Linked DNA regions of Homo sapiens: regions 1 and 2 are each linked to region 3. The links are contacts of gene promoters, found by promoter capture Hi-C in human tissues and cell types (Jung and others, 2019). All regions are on one chromosome and are shown on one strand. Each heading gives the region's core, a stretch centred on a gene start or on the middle of the fragment in contact. The rest is flanking DNA. Distances are from core to core; before and after follow the strand shown. Region 1 overlaps ERRFI1-DT (ERRFI1 divergent transcript). Region 2 overlaps LINC03154 (long intergenic non-protein coding RNA 3154). Region 3 holds the start of RERE (arginine-glutamic acid dipeptide repeats).

Region 1 (3,031 bases), core at 292-2,791, 720 kb after region 3:
GTCCAGGAATAAGGGACAGAGGCCAATAGTAACACAGATTTTATATTTTTCAACTGGAAAGCTTGGAGATAGTACAGGTAGATACAAATAATATTGGAGTGTTGGAAATTTTCTTCATGTTCATGTAAGGATAGTTTTACTATCAGTTCTTAGGAAATTGGAATATAAATAAACAATAACAATTTATCTAGACCATGTAAACATTATGGATTTTTCAATTTGCCCTGAAAATCTCAGATTTGCTTGATAGATTTCATGTGGTAGCCTCATTAGACCCCAAAGTGGGAGTGGTGTATAAGAAGGGATTCTGAAACCTAAAGTCCTTCAGCGCTGAAGTCTATCTGGCAGGAGAATTTTAAGTTTCCTTGACTTCAGGGGTTAGGTAGGTTTTTTCCATAGGCATAGAGATGAGTCAATTTTAGGTGTTTTTTCCTCATGGGGCAGCTTTGATAGAGTGGAAGGCAGAGAATTTATGACTAGAAGACCTGGGGTTTTGATCCCTGTTCTGCCACTTACTAGTAGGAGGTTGGGGAGGTTATTTGACCTCTCCAAGACTCAGTTTCCTCATCTGTAAAATGGGGGTGATAAAACGATCTCACAAAGTTGTTGCGGTCACGGAATAAGGTAAGGTATGTGAGGGCATGTTATAGGAACCTCGTGAATGTTTAGCCGATATGAATCTTAGCAACTGGGAATCATTATTTTATGTTTCTAGTATCTGATAGTTAAAGTATTTTAAAAATCACAATTTTTTAGAGAAAATAAATAATTTCACCATTGTTACCAAGGATACTGGTCTCCAATACTGCATCTGTGAAGACTGCTTCCCACATCCACAAACAATGAAAAATCCTCATCTCCAGATCCTCCCATTTATCTTAGTAACTGTCTAATGTAAATCCAAAAGAGCAGAAACTATGTCTTCTTTGCACTTAAGACAATCTCCTCACCATAGTAAATACTCAACAAATACTTGAGACGTGTGTTTACAACAAGGCATTTTAAGGGATTCCAGTGTTTTTCTGCCTTCTTCACTTCGGCTCATTCCCTTGTGGAAAACATCGCTTGTGCTGACCAGAGGATGAGCTCTTGGCCCCTTCTGATTCACAGCCTTTTCCTGTGAACCACGGCTCTCAGCGCTAAAAGCAGGATGTCACGCTCATATTTGTTTTGCTTCTCCCCTCTCACCAGGAGTTTAAACCGACTTAGATTAAGAAACTCGAATCTCCGCCATGCTTTTTGATCTTTGGTTAAAGTTCAACGTGACAAGCACATTTGCTGCCCATGGGCACTTTGCCCTCTGATGTGGAGGAGCTCACCATGTCTCAGCAAGAAACACACAACACAACACACCTCACATTTGGGGATGGACGCGTCTCCCTAGGAGCCCTTGATGGCTCTGAAAGTTTGGTATCCAAACTTTTGGATTCCTTTCAAAGAAAAAAATCATCATGAAAGCTCTGCCAAGATTTGAAAAGTGAAGTGGATGGAGTGACTTCATCTTTGAATGCAAGAGGCAGATCACTGGGTGGAGTTAATAAGGGCAGAGGTGAGTCATGGAGTCCTGAGATGCAAATATAATTACAGCTCATTTAGAAATGAGCACGTATGTACATGACCTTTATTCTCCACCAAAGCTGCACGAGTGCTCACTTCCATGCTGACATGGACAGCCCGTGGAAATAAGGCCAAGCAGCAGGAACCAGACATCTGACCGTGTTGACGGAGATTAGATGGCTCCGAGTGGATGAGGCGTTGAGAAACCCTAGCTGCCATTTATCAGTTACATACCTGAAGAGTTCAAGATACGCAACTGGCAGGAGGGACCAGTTGGTCTCCACCATGCTGATGGTTAGAGTCTATAATGATTTGCCAGACTGAGGTTGCATCTCCCAGCTTCCCTGTTCCATGCCTCCACTTCCAGCCTCACGCTGACCCTGCAGCTTCCCTCTTCCTTCCCTTCAATAATCCCTGATATTTAGATTTTGCTTTTATGGCTCTTCAGGGTTTATACTGCTCAAACCGTGTTCATTTGCTTCCTTTGAAATGACATCTTCACCTGCCTCTCCTGTCATTTTCCCATCCATCCTGGTTCCTCACCTCTAACTTGCACTATCTCAAGAGTCTCCTCGTTTCTTGTCTCGTTTGCCCTTTGGTTTATCCTAGACCTCACTGCCAGATTTGTTGCCCCAAAATGCCCGTTGCTCAGAAATCTTTGATACTTTTCCACCACCTGCAGACTCCGCAACCTGACATTCAGACGTAAAACCTGCCCAATTCTACATCGTCAGAACTCTCTCCTGCTCCGGTCTACCTGATGGCCCCCCTGTAACACACCCATACCGTGTTCAGGGCTGGCTCTTGGCTCGTAATGTCTCCTCAGTCTCCTCTGTGTCAAATGAATGACCTGGCCTCCAAAGTCCAGTCCAGGTGGAGCCTCCCTGTGAGGCCTCACCAACAGTCTCCTAGCTTCTTATCCCCTCAATGTGAATGCACGGCTGCCTCCTGCTCAGATGCCAGTTCCTCCACAAAGCATCCCTATTCCTCCCAGCTGGAAGGGACCCCCGCCCCCTGACCTCTGCCACTTTCATGAATGCCCATGACACATATCACAAACTGCCTGATTGTATAGTTATTTCCCTGTTAGATTATAAACTCACTGGTGATAGGAGCCGTGTCTTACTCATCTTTTTATACCTTGCAGCGCCCAACACAGTATATTATCAAAAACTATCTGTTGGATGAATAAACAAAGCACTTAAAGCAACAGACTTTTTGTTTTTTTTTTTTTTTGGAGACAGAGTCTGCTCTGTCACTCAGGCTGGAGTGCAGGGGCGCGATCATAGTTCACTGCAGCCTCCACCTTCCAGGGTCAAGCACTCCTCCTGCCTCAGCCTCCTGAGTAGCTAGGACTAGAGGTGCATGCCACCATGCCCAGTTAACTTTGTTTTCTTCTTGGAAAAAAAAATATATTTTGTAGAGATGGGGTCTTGCCATGTTGCTCAGGCTGGTCTCAAATTCCTGGCCTCAA
Region 2 (2,837 bases), core at 112-2,611, 520 kb after region 3:
AGACTTAGAAATAAGCAACTATATAAGCAGAGAACTGACAAGAGGGAAATTTTTGTCCACTAAGGATTCATCTTGAGCAAAGTTACTTGTCTTACACAAAGAGGGTTGAGGCTAGGTGCAGTGGCCCACACCTGTAATCCCAGCACTTTGGGAGGCTAAGGCTGGTAGATTGTGTGAGCCCAGGAGTTCAAGACCAGCCTGGGAAACATAGTGAGACCCCTATCACTACAAAAAATACAAAAATTAGCCAGGCACCGTGGCGCACACCCGTAGTAGTCCCAGCTACTGGGAGGCTGAGGTGGGAGGATCACCTGAGCCTGGGAGGTTGAGGCTGCAGTGATCCATGATTGCACCACTGCACTCCAGCTTGGATGACAGAGTACGACCCTGTCTCAAAAAAAAAAAAAAAAAAAGTTGGTTTTATGAAGCTTTGTGAATCTCCTGATAGGCCTTAGTACAATTAAACACAATGAAGACAATTGCTTTCTACTTACACGGGGCCTGGGGATTGTTTCCCATTCACTACGCCATTTCTTCTTCCTGGGTGCACAGGAAGACTCCGTTTCCCAGTAGCCCTTGCTAGGGTGAGATCATGTGACTGAGTTCTTGCCAATATGGATGTGAGTGGAAGTGATGGTTGCTATCAGTTCAACGTGTTAGAGCAGGTGTGAGCTCTTCACACTTTTGCTCTCTCATCAGGGGCTGTTAGCAAATAACTTCCAGATGGCAGATCTGTGAGAGGGAAGCATACTGGATTCCTGAGTTGCTGCAGGAGGAGAGCCACCTGACCTCTGAACTCAAGGGAGCCACTTTTTGTGTTTGCCCCCTGAGCTTTGGGGATTACTTGTGCCCTTGGCCCACCCTGATTAACAGAACACACTTCTGCGATACTACATTCTCAGAGGGGTTACGGGACCTTAGATATCTGAGCCCTGCACTGTGTCCCTAGAGACCTCATTCTGGGCTGCGTCAATCTATTAATCAATAATCAAGGAGTATAATCATTCTTGGAAGCATCTCATTAATGTGGGAGATTAGGATGCATTTCTCATGAAGTTAAGAGCTCTCCTTTGAAACTCAATCAGTAAGTAGGTACCCAGTTCCCCTCTTTGGCCAGCTCACAGTGTCCATTTCAGACCCAAAAATGAATTCAAGGTGTCAGAGGCATTCAAACTAGAGCAACTCCATCTTGAACAGGAGCTGGGTAAAATAAGGCTGAGACCTACTGGGCTGCATTCCCAGGAGGTTAAGGCATCCTTAGTTACAGGATGAGATAGGAGGTTGGCACAAGATACAGGTCACAAAGACCTTCCTGATAAAATAGCATGTTGTAAAGAAGCTGGCCGAATCCCACCAAAACCAAGATGGTGACGAAAGTGATTTCTGGTCATCCTCACGGCTCATTATATATTAATTTTTGTGCATTAGCATGCTAAGAGACCCTCCCGCCAGCGCCATGACAGTTTACAAATGCCATGGCAATGTTAGGAAGTTACCCTTCATGGTCTAAAAAGGGGAGGAACCCTTAGTCCCAGGAAATGCCCACCTCTTTCCTGGAAAACTCATGAATAACCCACCCCTTGTTTAGCACATAACCAAGAAGTAACAGTAAGTACAAGTAGCTGAGCAGTCCACGAGCAGCCATTCTTTATTCCTTTACTTTCCTAATAAACTTGATTTCACTTTACTGTATGGACTCACCCCGAATTCTTTTTTGTGTGATATCCAAGAACCTTCTCTTGGGGTCTGGATTGGGACCCTTTTCTGGTAACAAAGGGAAGAGAATCAGAACGCTACCTCACTCCGAGTCGTGAACACGAGAAGAGCTTGCTATCTATCATGACTGATATTTTTTATCATGGTGTGAATAATTGGCCACTATTAGTCAAAACACTCCCCAAAAGCAAGAGGCTCTCAGCTGAGAATGCTCACCCCTTCTCCAAATGCACTAATCAGACAGCTCGCTCCTCAGCCTGTGGGGCCACCATGAGGCCCCTCCCAAAATACCCATCGCTGTTCTCCCTGAGGAGCCCCAGGGCTGCTGTAGATTTGTTCTCTATAAGACTCTGAAATGGGTAAAAATAATACTTATTAAAATAATTCCAAAAGCATTTTAAACCTTTGATTAAGAAAACAAGTGATTTTCTACATTCCCATGATAACTATTTCAATATTATTATATGTAATATATTATTTCAATATAGCTGATCAGAGTCCTTGCACTGACATTAAATGACAACACAGAGACACATGGGCTTGATGGCGGGCACCTGTAATCCCAGCTACTTGGGAGACTGAGGCAGGAGAATCGCTTGAACCCAGGAAGCAGAGGTTGCAGTGAGCCGAGACAGTGCCACTGCACTCCAGCCTGGGCAACAAGAGTAGGACTCTGTCTAAAAAAAAAAAAAAAAAGAAAGAAAGTTCCTAGAAGCAGGACCATGCAGGGCAGGTGCCAGGGTGTTCGTGGAAGGGGCTGTTGGGGGAGAACCTTCTTGCACTCTGTGGCACCGGGGTGCCCAGCAGTCTCTGCTATCTGCCCAGCATCCAAGGCCTGTGGCCTTCAACTCATTTTGGAGAGGCTTCCCAGCAGCAGCTGTGCCTGACGGTACTTGGGTGGAGTCTCCACCTCTGAATTCTGTCACCTTTTCAGAAAGTGACAGTTTTGAACAGTTTTGCCTTTTTGTAAAGTGTAGGCAATTATAATGGTGATACCAACATACACAGTTTGAGCGGCCCCTCTCTCCCTCTCTCCCAAGCTCCATGATGAACATTTCTAGGCCCTTTGTGGGCCTCCTCACCACACTCAATGGAGGAGGGCAAGCTGGGGTTCATCTTGC
Region 3 (2,808 bases), core at 22-2,521:
AAAAAAAAAATGAATAATTCAATGTGGAAATTATAATCTGAATAGATTTTCCAAGGAGAAAATTATCACTTCTTTTGAAACAGATGAGTGAATTATTTTGTGCTACGTTTTCTACCCCTTATTTTATACGGACCTTAACTCCTTCGGGAAGAGTGTATGGTATAAGGACACCAATAAGCATTTACAGAATATTAACAAACCAACAATAGGTTGATGATTCACCCTGGATTCGTGCCAGGCTCTGTGAAAGAACTCAATAAACATGATGTGCATTTCAAAAACTGCTAATCATAATTGAAATTTCCAAACCCCTCAATCCCATAAATTATATGAACTAGAATATGATCATTTGGCCTGCCCCTACTCCCTTTACAGCATGATAGACCCTGTGATTATCAGGCTTTCGGGAAGTGGGACACAATACTTCATTCTTCAAAGAAAAAGAGGTGATGTTTGGTCTTTTCCTCTTTTTAGATTTTTTTTCACACGTACCTTATAGAGTTGTACACTGCTCTTTCTAAAATCCCTTCTGTACCTGTACAGTCTCTCCTTTATGCCTTCATGACACTTTTTATTCTTTTCAAATAAGCAGTGCGACTTATCACTTTTATTTTTCTTTCTGTAATTCATCTTTTGTCATGTACACTATTTGAAAAATATTACAAGCCGCTCATCAGAATTTCGAAAGAGTCCATATGAGAATGGTTTACACCCACTCTGTAGCCCGCAGCAACATGGATCCGCGTCCTAATGACTGAAAAGGCCAATTAAGACCCGGGTAACAGCAAGATCAACCGGACTTCCCCCCACCCCACCCGGGACCTGCCCGCGCCGCCAGCCCGGCCCAGCCCGGGGGGCGCGGGGGGCGGTACTGGAGCGCGGCGGGCGGCGGAGGAGGGCCGGCCTCGCACTCTCACAAAGACGCGCCCGCGGCGGGAGCCCAGCCCACCGCCTCTGGCCGCCGCCTGCAGCGCGAGCCCTCGAGCCCCGGGCCGCGGCGTTGTCAAGGCTCGGCCTCTCTCCGCCTTCTTCTCTGCTCATTTTATTAAAAAGATTAAAAAAAAAAAAAAAAAAAAAAAAAAAAGGAAAAAGAGATCCCGCCTCCTCCGCCTCCCATTGGCCGGGCCCCCGGCCGCGTCACACCGCGCTGTACCAATGGAGGGGCGCGATACTGCGAGGTGGGCCGGGCCCGAGCGGGGAGTGGGCGGCGGGTCGGTGCAGCAGCTCCGCCGCGGCTCCGCCACCATCGCGGAGGTGCCGCTGTTCCCACAGACGCTCGCGAGCAACCCTCCGCGCTCCGGAGCCTCCTCAGCCTCCCGCACACCCCGAGACGCTCGCCCCGCTGGGCCTCGGTCCCCGCCTCCTCCCCCGTCCTTTTCCCCTCTCTCGCTCCCCACATTGTCTCTGCCTCATTTTCTCTCCTAGTTGAGGATTAAAAAAAAAAAAAAATCACCATCATCCTCAGGGAGCCCCCTCGCCCTCGGAAAACAAAACCAGACATGATCCTGGGCTCCTGCTTCTGAAAGATCTGCCCGACCGAGGAGGAGGGAGCCTAGGTTCAAGTCGCAGGAAAGGTCACGGCAGGGAAGCCCCCTCAGCCCCTCCGCGTCGCCTCCCCGCGGGCCGCCCCTCTCGGCCCTGCGCCCCGCGGCCCCGCAGCCTCCGCGCGGCCTCCCGCCCCATCCCCGCCACTTTCCCCGGAGCTGGGCCGCGAACACCTCACTATTGATGGTGTAGCGCTTTAGGGGAAGGTAAGTGTCCAACTTGCCCGCGCCGGGTCGTGTGCTTTCTTTTTTGGCCCCTCGTCCTGGTGGTCAGAGAGGGTCGGCCGTGAAAGCAGTCACTCGCCCGGGGGGAGGCAGGAAGAAAAGGCTGGGGTCGAAGCCGAAGTCGAGGGGAGTCGGGCGAGGGCAGGGCACTTCTTTGGTCCTGTCCGGGCCAGGTGACCGTTCCTGCGTGCCTTCTGACCCCTGCTCTCTCTTGGCCTCTTATTCATGCTCTTGTTCTACTTGTTTGAGGTTAAACTATTTCATGTGACTACATTATTGGCTGAAACTGGAAGGGAAGGAAGTCAAGGACTGAAACTGTAAATTTCTTGAATGTTTGTGGATTTCGGGGTGCTGGGGGGAGGACTTTATTATTAAAGTATCATTTTCTCATTGGGGGAAGATTTCCTCTTTGTGCTCCCAATCTCTAGTTCTCAGCTGTATGTGATTAGAAAATTATGAAACCCAAAGTCACTTGCAGCAGAATAGAATTCTTACTATCCTGTTTTAGTTCTGCTCTCTGAAGGAGGGTGGCTTCTATTTATTACTAATTTTTAAGATGATGGAAAGATTCGTAGTTTTACATACACGTGTGTATGTGTGTCTGCTAGGAGGGGGGAAAAGTGTTGCAGGCTTCCTTTGAAACTGGTTGCTTGAGAAGTTGTTGAAAGGAAAACAGAATGATTCATTGTTGAATTGTCATTTTCCTCTGTCTCTTTTCCAAGGTTTGCTTACAATTTTTCTGGATTACAGACTTCAAACATTGATTTAAGTAAAATGGGTCCTTGAGAAACTGGGTGCTTTAAATGTTTCAGTATCTGTTGCTTTTTTAAGGTACATTTAGAAAGTAGTTTTGTATGAATCGTGAAATAGCCTTCTTCACAGCGAATTTTTAAACGCAAAAAAAGATAACTAGTAAGAGGGTGAACTTGGTGAATTACAAAATAGACATTTTAATATAGCAGGAATTGATGCATCTAAGATTTGAAACAGTTTTCATAATTGCTTTCCATTTAAAGAGAGACCTTTTTGTCTAGTGTAC

Evidence for each region. Contacts are between HindIII fragments. The study calls those that stand out against the background at their distance.
Region 1: a contact is called between a fragment that was not itself captured here and the fragment with the promoter of RERE in region 3, in 1 of the 25 tissues and cell types used here (heart left ventricle).
Region 2: a fragment that was not itself captured here is called in contact with the fragment with the promoter of RERE in region 3 in 1 of the 25 tissues and cell types used here (aorta).

The regions. Positions count from the first base shown.
Region 1 is chr1:8,093,222-8,096,252 of GRCh38, reverse strand. All of the region lies in intron 2 of ERRFI1-DT (ERRFI1 divergent transcript), which reads right to left. Among named protein-coding and RNA genes, the nearest start is that of ERRFI1-DT, 68 kb to the right of the region's middle. RefSeq lists an enhancer at 585-1,784. The HindIII fragment of the contact is 3,721 bases long and covers 1-3,031 here.
Region 2 is chr1:8,295,236-8,298,072 of GRCh38, reverse strand. LINC03154 (long intergenic non-protein coding RNA 3154) reads right to left here. Exons shown (of 2, transcript XR_007065454.1): 2 at 1,624-2,837. Among named protein-coding and RNA genes, the nearest start is that of SLC45A1, 21 kb to the left of the region's middle. The HindIII fragment of the contact is 7,461 bases long and covers 1-2,837 here.
Region 3 is chr1:8,816,103-8,818,910 of GRCh38, reverse strand. It overlaps RERE (arginine-glutamic acid dipeptide repeats), which reads left to right and starts at 1,271. Exons shown (of 23, transcript NM_001042681.2): 1 at 1,271-1,751. RefSeq lists silencers at 734-963, 1,064-1,363, 1,614-1,673 and an enhancer at 1,027-1,321. The HindIII fragment of the contact is 13,824 bases long and covers 1-2,808 here.